Linked DNA regions of Homo sapiens: all the other regions are linked to region 1. The links are contacts of gene promoters, found by promoter capture Hi-C in blood cells and fetal thymus (Javierre and others, 2016). All regions are on one chromosome and are shown on one strand. Each heading gives the region's core, a stretch centred on a gene start or on the middle of the fragment in contact. The rest is flanking DNA. Distances are from core to core; before and after follow the strand shown. Region 1 holds the start of ZNF296 (zinc finger protein 296). Region 2 overlaps PVR (PVR cell adhesion molecule). Region 3 overlaps KLC3 (kinesin light chain 3).

The links. The method cuts DNA at HindIII sites, captures the fragments that hold promoters and counts their contacts. A CHiCAGO score of 5 or more calls a contact.
Region 2: a fragment that was not itself captured here is called in contact with the fragment with the promoter of ZNF296 in region 1 in 1 of 17 cell types (naive B cells); the score reaches 5.3 in naive B cells.
Region 3: a contact is called between a fragment that was not itself captured here and the fragment with the promoter of ZNF296 in region 1, in 1 of 17 cell types (endothelial precursors). The highest score is 5.2, in endothelial precursors.

The regions. Positions count from the first base shown.
Region 1 is chr19:45,074,391-45,078,403 of GRCh38, reverse strand. It overlaps ZNF296 (zinc finger protein 296), which reads left to right and starts at 1,926. Exons shown (of 3, transcript NM_145288.3): 1 at 1,926-2,328; 2 at 2,542-2,691. The coding sequence starts at 2,031. It also overlaps a transcript of GEMIN7 not described here. RefSeq lists silencers at 1,730-2,139, 2,230-2,469, 2,800-3,109. The HindIII fragment of the contact is 16,244 bases long and covers 1-4,013 here.
Region 2 is chr19:44,654,555-44,658,567 of GRCh38, reverse strand. It overlaps PVR (PVR cell adhesion molecule), which reads right to left. Exons shown (of 8, transcript NM_006505.5): 5 at 658-806. Among named protein-coding and RNA genes, the nearest start is that of MIR4531, 2.8 kb to the right of the region's middle. RefSeq lists a silencer at 1,830-2,030 and an enhancer at 3,806-3,865. The HindIII fragment of the contact is 5,268 bases long and covers 1-3,890 here.
Region 3 is chr19:45,345,398-45,349,410 of GRCh38, reverse strand. It overlaps KLC3 (kinesin light chain 3), which reads right to left. Exons shown (of 13, transcript NM_177417.3): 2 at 3,612-3,877; 3 at 2,637-2,867; 4 at 1,895-1,964; 5 at 1,251-1,470; 6 at 678-765; 7 at 490-591. The coding sequence starts at 3,869. Among named protein-coding and RNA genes, the nearest start is that of KLC3, 6.7 kb to the right of the region's middle. RefSeq lists a silencer at 2,586-2,880. The HindIII fragment of the contact is 3,588 bases long and covers 970-4,013 here.

The DNA.
Region 1 (4,013 bases), core at 677-3,176:
TAAAGAATAAAATAGGCCGGGCACGGTGGCTCACGCCTGTAATTCCAGCACTTTGGGAGGCTGAGGCGGGTGGATCACCTGAGGTCAGGAGTTCGAGACCAGCCTGGCCAACATGGTGAAACCCTGTCTCTACTAAAAATAGAAAAATTAGCCGGGCATCTGTAATCCCAGCTACTCCGGAGGCTCAGGCAGGAGAATCACTTGAACCCGGGAGGCGGAGGTTGCAGTGAGCTGAGGTCGTGCCACTGCACTCCAGCCTGGGCAACAAGAGTGAAACTCCATCTCAAAAAAAAAAAAAAAAAAAAAGAGTAAAATAAGGGCAATGGGATAGTGGGTGGCTGGGTTGCCATGGAACTTAAAATTGGGTGGTCTGAGGCTGAGTGCAGTGTCTCACACCTGTAATCTCAGCACTTTGGGATGCTGAAGCAGGAGGAGCGCTTCAAGCCAAGAGTTTCAGACCAACCAGGGCAACAAAGCGAGTCCCTGTCTCTATTTAAAAATAATTTTTTTTGAAAAATTAAAAATTACAAAAAAAAAAAGGGTGATCAGAGGAGGCGGCAGTGAAGAAGAAACCACCTCAGATAACCCTCTAGTTCCAACCTGCCCTACCTCCTTTGACAGATGGAGAAAGTGAGATCCAAGAGGGAACTGGGGACAGATGGAGGTCATGGAGTGTAATTTGCAAGGCCTTCAGCAGGGTGGGGCTACTTTAGATACTGTTGGTCAGGGCCCTCTGCTCTCAGGAGGACAATGGAACCCAGACCTGAATAACAATGTGCAGAACTCCAAGAGATCAGCATCTGAAATCAGCATCTGGGCTGAGGACAGCTGGGGGAGGACAGGTTCTTGCCCTGACCTCAGGGGGCTTGCATTGGGTGGGGGAGAGGACAGTCCACAAGCCGTTCTATACTGTCGTGCAGTCGGTGCCAGGAAGAAAAGAATACTCATCAGGGATTGAGGGTGGGGCAGGGTGTCGATGCCACTTCAAACAGTGAGCAGACAGAACTGCTTAGGGGAGGGAAGTTCAAGGAGGCGGAGTGGAGGCAGGTGAGCTGCTTGGCTATTTGGTTTTAATGGCGACTTCTGGTCTAGGAACAGAGTCGATGTGTATGATTACAGTCCTCCTCTGCTCAAAACCCTCCTAAGGCTCCGGTCTCAGGAAAACCAAAAGACCTTAAAGCGATCAAAAGATTGCTTGGATCTGCCCCCATATTTTCACTGAACTCAATCCCCAACCCGTATTGCCTCTCCCTTTCCTTGTAATTCCTCAATGCCCAGGCCCACTGGCTGGGCTTCCTTCCCTCCAGCCTCAGCTCCACCATGCCCTTTCCCATCATAGGGGAGAAAATTGAATCCCTCAACCCCAGTAACCCTCTCCGCCTTTCCAGCTTTCTTTTGCTCCATGGCACTGGTCATCATGAAGGGCCATCTATATTTTACGTAATTATGTTTATAGTGTCTTCCCCCACCGTCTGAACTCCGTGCAAACAAAGATTATCTTCTGTTTATTCCCTCCTGTATTCTCAGGGCTTCAAACAGAGCCTGGCGCACAGGAGGCACTCAGTGAATGCTTGCAAAATGAATTTTTATTGTAATGCATTTAATGAAATAGCCCAGATTACTATCAGGCACCTAATAAGAAACGTGACCGACTATTTTTCTCGCTTGGGGGTGCGTGTGGGCATGCCGTGTCTCAGTTTCACCCGCCCTAAAACGGGATCAGGGATAGCTGTTTCAATGCCTTGTGGGAACTCGGTGTGATTAAATTTGGTCACTAAGCCAAACGCACGGGACACTGCCTAGATTGAGTTAGGCCGCCGTCAGGGCCCCAGCAGGGCGGCTCGGTCCCCTCCCATGAGCCCCGCCCTGGTAGGCGGAGCCACGGGCCCGGCCAGCACGTGTAAGAGTTCGCGGCGGGTCGCCGCAGTCACTCACCTGAGCGCGCACGGTCCGCGCGTCCTCCGCTCGTGCGTCCTCCGCCCGCCCGCCTGCCTGCCTGCCCGCCCGCTCGCTCGCCCGGCCCGCGACTCATGTCCCGCCGCAAGGCCGGCAGCGCGCCCCGCCGAGTAGAGCCCGCGCCCGCCGCCAACCCAGACGACGAGATGGAAATGCAGGACCTCGTCATCGAACTCAAGCCCGAGCCAGACGCGCAGCCCCAACAGGCCCCAAGGCTGGGGCCCTTCTCCCCGAAGGAGGTGTCCTCGGCGGGGCGGTTCGGCGGCGAACCCCACCACTCCCCTGGCCCCATGCCCGCCGGGGCCGCCCTCCTCGCCCTCGGCCCGCGGAACCCGTGGACCCTGTGGACGCCGTTGACCCCGAACTATCCCGGTGAGCACCCCGGGCCCTGGGCCCAGCCTCCCTTACCTTTGACCCTCGGGTGGGACCCTTCCCTTTGGGCATGGGCCCCTCGCCCTGCCTTATCTCCTTCGCCCCGTCCTGCCCCTCAGGCCCCCTTCTGACCTTCGGTTTCCCCTCTCCTTCAGCACCCTCAGCCCCCATCCTGGCCCCACCCCACGCTCACCACCCGCTTCCTCCCTGCAGACCGCCAGCCCTGGACCGACAAACACCCAGATCTGTTGACCTGCGGCCGCTGCCTGCAGACCTTCCCGTTGGAGGCCATCACTGCCTTCATGGACCACAAGAAGCTGGGCTGTCAGCTCTTCAGAGGCCCCAGCCGCGGCCAGGGCTCAGGTGAGTAAAGCCGGGTGCAGTCCCCCTCTCAAGTTCGAGGGCTGGGCTTCCTGCTGGAAAGGGGCTGGGCTGGACGGCAGGGCACTGAGCACTACTTCCCCTTTCTCGCTCCCCATCGGGTGCAGCCTAGGCGTGGCCAGGGCCTGCCCGTCCTAGGGCAGGGACCAGTGGTGGCGGTGGAGGGGGGGCGGGGGGGGACTGGGCAGGGAAGGAGGGCCGCCTACAGGGTGTGGCCAGCCCCAGAAGACTAGCCCGGGATTTTGCCCCCCCCAACACACACCCCAACCTGGTTTCACTTCTCCTTCCCCTTGGCCAGAAATAACTGGCCAGGTGGCTGGACCAGGGTGGCAGTAGGAGGGGACCTCTAGGGAGGGCAGCGGCCGGGGGGAGGGGGAGTGGAGGCCAGCTGGAATGGGGAGGTTGCCACCCCCTCCTGTCTCTCTCTGTCAATTCTGATTGAGGTGCTAGTACAGCTGAGTGTTCAGAGCCAAGGAAGGGGCTTCTGGCTTCCCTCGGTGATGGAATCTCCCAGCCCCGCGTGCTGGGAATCCCCTGGTTTGAGCGAGCTCCCGGGTGCTGGACACCCGGGTTCCTTCTCTTGGGAGGGAATTAAAAGCCTTCACATGGGGCTTGACCCTCGGTGAGCTTTTGGTCAGTGTTGGCTGCAGGGCTTAATCCAAACCTAGTTTCCAGCCCCCTGGCCCTTGCCCTTCTGAGACTTTTGAGAAGTGGAATTATTTAGGGTTGGGCCAGGGAGGGTCTGGTGGTGGGAAAGAGGAGGGGCTTGTGACTGATTGAATCAGCTTTAGAGCTGGAGCATGGAGAGTGGCCTGGAGGAGCGAGCGAGGGGCTGTGATGGAATCGCTGGAACAAAACACTACAGGGCTTGGAGAATCATGGGCACCTTGGTTTCACAGGCTCTGCTGTTTGAGCGCTTATGTGGACCAAAGCTCTCAACCATTCCCCAAGCGAGGTCACAACCACCCTTGAAAGGGAGGGGATCTCTAGGGTCCCTGAATTCTAGCAACTGAGGCACACAGAGGACTATGTCTTGCCCAAGGTCACACAATTAGGGAGCAGAGAAGTCTGAATTTGAATGCAGGCCTGTGCTCTTGACCCAGGACTGGTTGTATCACAAAGGTTGTCCCATCCAAGACTCTAGAATTTGAAAAATGGAAAGGCTAGTTCACCTAGGAAGTGTCCACTGAGAGTACCCCGAAGGTCCAGATAGAAATCCAAATTCAGGTTTGGGGGCTCAATTTGAGATCCATGCAGAGGGTGGGGGACCCAGGTCACTACCACCTCTTTACTAGGTGGCCGCT
Region 2 (4,013 bases), core at 7-2,506, 420 kb after region 1:
CTGGCCAATCAGAATATTCCATTCTCCCTGGCTGCTATGATTGGTTCATAGGTGGGCTGTGGCCTAAGCTGGGCCAATGAGAGCCAGCCCTGGGACTATGGCTACAGTTACTGAAAGTGGTATGTTTTTTCTCCTGCTGTTGCCATTCTGGTAGAATGTGAGCCTGTCCCTGCCGAGGGCCATCTTGCTTCAGAGCCTGCCTGAGAATAAAGCCAGTATAACGAAAAGCAGAGACAAGAGATGTATAAAATAAAAGTTCCTGGGTTACAAGGTTGGAGCCCCTGGATCTAACCATACCTGAAGGTGAATTTTCAATAAAGTCCTGTTTTGTTTGGTTTTTTTTGCTTAGACTACTTTGTGTTTCTGTCAATTGCAATTGATAGAGGTCTGCCTAATATATTTGGAAAGGCCTGAGTCCCTGAGAGAGAGGGATTCCACATCTATCCCAACCTGTGTGTGTGGAGGGAGTGTATCCAGGCAGCTGAACAACGGTACCAGTGATATAGGTATGGAGTTAACAGGGGAGTAAAGCTGGCCCCACTGGTCCTTTTGTGAGAAGGCTTAGGAGAAGGATGGGAGCCAGAGAGCATTAGACAGGGAACCCTGCCTCGACCTCTTCCTTTGGTCCCTGTTCTTCCCACCCAGGGAGTTCCTCACCTTTGACCTGGACGGTCAGTTCTGCCTGGCGAGCTCCTAGGGCATTGGTGACGTTGCAGATTAAAGTTGTGTTGATTGGTTTGTCCACAGGACGGATCAGGAGCTGGGCGCCCTGGGCCACAGCAAAGGGTGGCAGGGGACCCATGGTCCTGGGAGAGACAGAAAGGTGAGGAGGTGGCCTCTGCTGCAGGTCCGGAGTGACAGTGATTGAGCACGCACTACGTGCCCAGAAACCCTCACGCCCTCTATAGCATAAGCGGAGAGCAACTCTGGAGGCCCCCCAACTCTTCCCTTCCTCTCATGCCCACACCCAACCCATTAGCCAATCATGTCGGCCCCGCCTTAAGATCCATCCAGAATCCCACCTCTCCTCAGGGCTTCCACGGTACCTCCCTGCTCTGGCGCTGTGCATCCCGGCCCCCAGCAGCCGCCTCCACGCTGGGCTCCGTTTCTGCCCTCGCCCCCTCGTCTGTTCCCCACATGGCCACCAGAGGTCGCCTGTGAACCCTAAGTCAGTTCCCATACCTCAGCTCAGTACCCTCTGGGGGCCTAGCCTGGCTCAGAGTTAAACCGAAGTCTTCTGGTGTCACAGGCCCCACGTGATCTGGCCCCTGCTACCTCTGCCCACGTTTTCCATTACTCTCCCCTTTGCTCCCGCCTCTGCATCCACAGTGGCCTCTTTGTTGGTCCTCAAACTCTCCAGTTAGGTGTCCAGGGTGTTTGCTTATGCAGGGACTGATGGATAGAAATGGGTTTGCCCATGCTGTTCCCTCTGCTGGAATGCTTTCCCCCTAGGCACCCGCAGAGCTCACCCTCATCTCCTTCAGGCCTCTGCTGGGATGTCACCTTAGTAACACCTCACTTGGCCACCCTATTTCAACTGTGATGATCACCCTTCCCATCCCCTTCTCTTTAATTTATTTAATTATTATTTTTTTGAGACAGCGTCTCACTCTGTCACCCAGGCTGGAGTGCAGTGGCACCATCTTGACTCACTGCAACCTCCACCTCCTGGGTGCATGGAATCTTCCCACCTCAGCCTCCTGAGTAGCTGGGACTACAGGTGCATGCCACCACACCCGGCCAATTTTTGTATCTTTTTTGGTAGAGATGGGGTTTCGCCATGTTGGCCAGGCTGGTCTTGAACTCCTAGCCTCAAGTGATCCTCCCATCTCTGCCTCCCAAAGTGCTGGGATTACAGGTATGAGTCATGGCGCCCAGTCCCATTCCCTTCTCTGCTTTGTCTTCTCCATGGTATTTATCACCATTGCACACACACTACACACTTTATCTTGCTTCTTGTTTCTTTCACCACTAGAATGGAAGCTCTATATGGGGAGGAAATTTGGTCTGTTTTATCGACCAACGTATGTTGGTTAATTGCACCCGGCACACAGTAAGTAGTCAAGGAACACTGGTTTAATGAACAGAGGTGGAGGAGATGGAAGCATCAGGCTTTGGGTGCTCCGCAGAGCTGGGATGCAAACGCAGCTATCTGGCTCAAGAGCCTGAATTGCGGTGCTTTGAGGCAGGACAGTAAAGGCACCATCACACCAGTTGAAAACCTTTGACCGGCAATTCCTTCCACGGACAACTGCTGACAAGTGACCAGTGGGGATGGACACCACCATGGCATTTGCAGAGTTGAAAATGGAAAATGACATCTGTGTCCTCTACTAGGGACTGGTTAAATAACTGATGACATCCACATATGTTGGAATCCCTTCCCTGCCCTTTGGGAGGCCCAGGTGAGATGACTGCTTGAGTACAGGAGTTCAAGACCAGCCTGGGCAACATAGTGAGATCCTGTCTCTATTCTTTGAATTTTTTTTTTAAAGTGGTGGAATCCCAGCAACACTAAAAAAGGGGCCAGGTTAGCCAGGCGTGGTGGTGTGTGCCTGTAGTCCCAGCTATCTGGGAGGCTGAAGCTGGAGGATCGCTTGAGCCCAGGAATTCAAGGCTGCAGTGAGCTGTGATTGTGCCACGGCACTACAGCCTGAGCAACAGAGTGAGGCCCTGCCTCAAAAAAAAAAAAAAAAAAAAAAAAGCAGGAGAGCTGGGGGTGCTCTGAAATGCATAATATGATTGATGGATGAATAGAGGGACTGAAGGAATCACAGAAACGTGATAAAGCAAGCACAGTAAAATGTTAGCAGGGGAATCCACGTGGTGGAATCTTAAGTGTTCACTGGAAAATTCCTATGATTTTTCTGTATGTTTGACAGTCTTCCTAATACAACGTGGGGGAAAATGGAGTTGTGGATCTATGTGCTTTGACATGGAAAGGTATTCACAAGACAGACGAAAAGGTTCAAAATTATATGTACAGCATAATTCCAGTCTTTGTTTAGAAACAGAGAGAAAAAAGACAGGATGTATAATAAGGGGTCACTGGGTATTTCTGGAGGTGGCTGGGTACACTTGAACTATAGGCACTACTTTCTTCTTTTTGCTCATAACTAAATTGTTTGATATTTCTACAGTGGACACAAGTTATTTTTGTAATAAGGAAAAAGACCTAAGGCTGGGCGAGGTGGCTCACGCCTGTAATCCCAGCACTTTAGGAGGCTGAGGTGGGTTGATTGCTTGAGCCCAGGAGTTGCAGACCAGCCTGGGCAATGTGGCAAAACCCTGTCTCTGCAAAAAAAATACAACAAAATTAGCTGAGTGTGGTGGCGTGTGCCTGTAGTCCCAGCTACTCAGGAGGCTGAGGTGGGAGGATCACCTGAGCCCAGGGAGGTCCAGGCTGCAGTGAGCTATGATCACGCCACTGCACTCCAGCCTCGGCAACAGAGCCCCTTCTTTAAAAAAAAAGGGCGGTTCAGTAAAATTATGTAATTTATGTAAAATTATGTATTATAAAATTATGTATTATCTCTTTGCCTTTTTCTTACCTTGCTCTTGATCTCAGCCTCAGTGTGAATCTGGGGAAATCTTATTGCTGTGAGCCTCAACTTTCTCATCTAGACAATGGGGATATATAGTACTTGCTCCATCCAGAGATAACCAAGTAGGTTACACAAGGTGACGGTGAGGTGGTTACAGTCTAGAGTGGGGGTGTCCAATCTTTTGGCTTCCCCGGGCCACATTGGAAGAAGAAGAACTGTCCTGGGCCATACATAAAATACACTAACACTAACAATAGCTAATGAGCTAAAAAAATTCGCAAAAAAAAAGTCTCATAATGTTTTAAGAAAGTTTACAAATGATGTGGCCTGCAGGTTAGACAAGCTTGGCCAAGAGGCGGAGGACCAGCTTTGGAGCCGAGCGCTGATTCAAGGGCCGCTTCTGCCCTCTCGTGGCTGGTCTTTAACCTGGGCAGGGCAACAGCTGCTGACTGTGCACAGCATGGGGTC
Region 3 (4,013 bases), core at 1,514-4,013, 270 kb before region 1:
AAGTCAGAGGGATCATACAGGATTGGTGGGACACGTGACATCACTGCTGTATGGTGGTCATGAGTTGGGGATTACAGGGTCAAAGCAGAGAGTGACCTGAGAGGTTGGGGGCTGGGGACACAAGTTATACCATCTAACGGGATTACCAAGGTCAGAGGTCATGGTGGTCCAGAAACGTGGGGCACAGGGTGAGATGGGTAGGTCAGGGTTGGGCTTGTGCTGGTGGCCATGAGGGGTTGGAAAGGCTATGGGGGGACCCAGTTGGAGGGTGATGTGTGAGGTAAGGCGAGAGGTCAGTCAGGGTCAAGACCAAACTGGGATCTCAGAAGGTCAAGGGTGATGGGTTGGGTGATCTAGGCTCCAACTGGGGTCTCCCAATACCAAACGCAAGGGGCCCGAGGGTCAGGGTCACGATGTACGTGCTCAGCATCCCTGGGGAGGGCTACATGGGACAAGGGGTTCCTCGGGGTGGGGTGAGGGGGATGGGACCTTCTCTCGGATCTCCAAAGCGCGCTGGCACAGGGGCTCTGCCTCCCGGTAACGCCCACGCTTCCCATAGAGGACAGCCAAGTTGTTGAGCGTGGCGGCCACCTGCGGGGTTGGGGGAGGCACAGGTCAGGGATGGGCAGGTGTGGCCCCACTTTGACCCCACTTCGTCTCCCTGGGGCCCCACTCACCGCGGGGTGCTCAGGGCCCAGCGTCTGCTCCCGGATCTGCAGGGCATCATGGAGAAGGTCTGTGGCTTCTTTGTACTTGTTCTGGTCCCTGTGGGGGGCGCCCCAGGAATGGAGGGGGTTAGCCAAGGGTTGGGGCAGCTGCAGCCACAGGGGCTGGGCCAATCCTGACAGGCCCAGGGAACCTGGCTGAACCAAGCATGGGTGGCACACCCTTTGAGGGCCTTTTGTGGGCCCCTCCATATTTCGCAATTCTCTAACACTGGGCCCTGTACCCCCAGACCTCTGCCAAGCTTCTAGCCACCCCAGGTCTCCTGCCTGCTCTGTTGGGGTCCCTGGTGTCCGTGCTCTCTGACTCCTCTCTGCCTGGCTCAGTGGCCCCCCCAGATCCCTGTCCCACTCCCTCTTTGCCGTTCTCACAGCAGGAGCCTTCCCTTCCTTTCCCATTCTTGCTGTCCCCTCCCCTGACCTCCCTAGGTGCTCCATGGTGACAGAGGGGGCACCAGGATCCTTCCACTTGCACCCAATGGGTCCCTGCCGTTCCTGCCCCCAGCCATGGCTGGCCGCAGTGCTCACCGGTACACCAGCGCCAGGATGTTGAGCATGGTGGCCACGTCAGGGTGGCAGTGGCCCGAGCTGCGCTCCAGGTCCTCCAAGGCCTGGCGGCACAGAGGCACCGCCACCTCATAGCGGCCCTGCCCCGCGTACTGGATCACGAGGTTATGCAGGGTCCGAAGGCGGGCAGGGATCTCATAGCCACCCTGCTGAGCAGCTGCTGCTCCTGCGGCCTCAGGACCTAGGTGGGGTGGGGTGGGCTCTGGGTCACTGCAAGCCTCCTGCCCCTCCAGCCTCGCATGAGGGGACACGTGCCTCAGAACTGCCGGACTGCCTAACTGGCCCCTGGGACTATGGGCCCCCACGCTAACTTCTGAGATAGGAGTCACTAGCATCTAACCAGCTGGTGGGATGCATCCTGGCCTCGGGACAGGAACACGGCAGCCCACCTGCCCTGTGGGATGTGAATACGGGGCCTGCCAGGCTCATAGCGGCTACCCTGTCTTTGTGGCTCCCAGCCTCACCTGCACTGTCACATTCAGGGTCCTCCTCACCCTGCCCTCACCTCCCCATCCCCTGGCTCAGAGATTTTGGGGTCCTGCAGCTCAGAGCCCCCTCCCCACCCTGGCCTGCCATCCTCTGTGGCATGTACTCCCAACACCCACCTTTCCTCTCCTCCTCCTCGCTGGGGAACAGGGAGGCCAGGCTGTCTCGGCGAGGCGGGGACTCAGACTGCTGCAGAGACAGGAAAGTGGGGGGCCGGGGTGGTGGGGGCTTGTTTCAGAGACCGGGGCCCTGGCTCTATCTCAGGTTTTTGTTTTTTTGTTTTTTTTTTTTTTTTGAGACGGAGTTTCGCTTGTTGCACAGGCTGGAGTGCAATGGTGCGATCTTGGCTCACAGCAACCTCCACCTCCTGGGTTCAAGCCATTCTCCTGCCTCAGCTTCCGGAGTAGCTGGGATTACAGGCATGTGCCACCACACCCGGCTAATTTTGTATTTTTAGTAGAGACGGGGTTTCTCCATGTTGGTCATGCTGGTCTTGAAATCCGGACCTCAGGTGATCTGCTCGCCTCGGCCTCCCAAAGTGTTGGGATTACAGGCGTGAGCCACCGCACCCAGCCTATCTCAAGGTTTGAGGGAGGTGGTGGTCACGAGCGTCAGAGGCCCCCTGGGGGTCTGGCGAGGCTCGGGGGCTTCGTGGAGTAGCTAGTGGGGGCGTCTGTGGAAGTTCTGGTGGGTCTGGGGGCTCTGTGGAGGGTTGGGGGACTGTGGCATTCTAAGGAGGGTCTGGGGGACTGTGGGATTCTAAGGAGGATCTTGGGGACTGTGGGATTCTAAGGAGGGTCTGGGGGACTGTGGGGCTCTATGAAGGGCCCAGCACCCCCCGCCTCGCCCTGCCCGTGGCACCTGGCTCTCCGCCGGTGGGTCGTACTGTCGCAGCTGCCCCAGGAACTCCAGGTGGCGCTTCTCCTCCTCCAGCTGGGCCACGGACTCCTCGCTGGCCCGAAGCCGCCGCTGCGTCTCCTCCAGTTCCTCCCGCAGCCACACGTTCTCCTGGGCCAGCCGCCGGGCCTGCGAGCGCAGCCGCTGCTTCTCTGCCTCCAGTGCACCCACATGTGCCGACAGGGCCAGCAGCACCTGCCCGGGGTGGGGGTCCCAAGTCGAGGTTGGTTCCTGCCCTGCCAGACGGCCCCTGACCCAGCCCAGGCCTCGAGTCAGGCCGTAGCACCCCACTACTATGCACGACACCCCCAGATTCTGCAGAGACTCTGCCAACATGGCCCCAGTGCCCTCAGAGGCTCCCAGGGGCCCCTCTGATTTTACCCCCAAACTTGCCCTAGGACCCACAGTTTACTGAAGAATGCCATCTGGTTCAGGGGTCCCTGTCACACACAAGGACCCCCTAAAGCTGCCAAGGGACTCCATCTCTGACCTGGAGCCTCCCCTTCCCAGGCCTGGTTCCCCTAGGCCTCCCCCTGCCCCGGATGTGCCTCTCTGCCATACTTTTTTCTGTTGTTTTTTGGGACAGTCTCTCTCTGTCACCCAGACTGGAGTGGAATGGCACGATCTCCACTCACTGCAACCTCCGCCTCCCAGGTTCAAGCGATTCTCATGCCTCAGCCTCCTGAGTAGCCGGGATTACAGGAGCCCTCATGCCCAGCTACTTTTTGTATTTTTAGTAGAGATGGGGTTTTCCCATGTTGGCCAGGCTGGTCTTGAACTCCTGACCTCAAGTGATCTGCCCACCTCAGCCTCCCAAAGTGTGCCCCTCTGCAATAGTGAACCCTCTCCCAGTCCCCTACATACCTGTCCCCCTCATGCCTGGCCCTCCCTCCGCCCTCAGCTGACCTTCCCCCAGCTCCCCACCTGGCCCCCTCATACCTGGGCCTCGCCCAGCCCCAGCTCGATGGCCTCCAGCGAGTGGCTCACCACCTGCTGCTTTTCCTCCAGCATCTCCAAGCCGGCTGCCGGGCCCTGTCCCGCCAGGGCCTCCGCCAGGTGCCCAGCCAGGCCATGGTGCTCTGCCCGCAGCGCCTCCAGCCCCTGGACCACTTGCCGCGTCTGCCGCACCAGCTCCTCAGGGCTCAGGCGCTCTGGGCCCAGCCCTGCACTTCCAGGAGCCGCTACCTGCACAGACATTGCTGCTCCTGGGGAGCAATGGTGAGGGGTTTGGGGAATCATTGCCCGGGCCAGTCAGTTGGCCCCCAGCCTCTATTCCCATAATGGCCATCAGGACCCCTAACTTCTCCCCATCCTGGCTCTTCCCTGCTCCACCCATCCTGG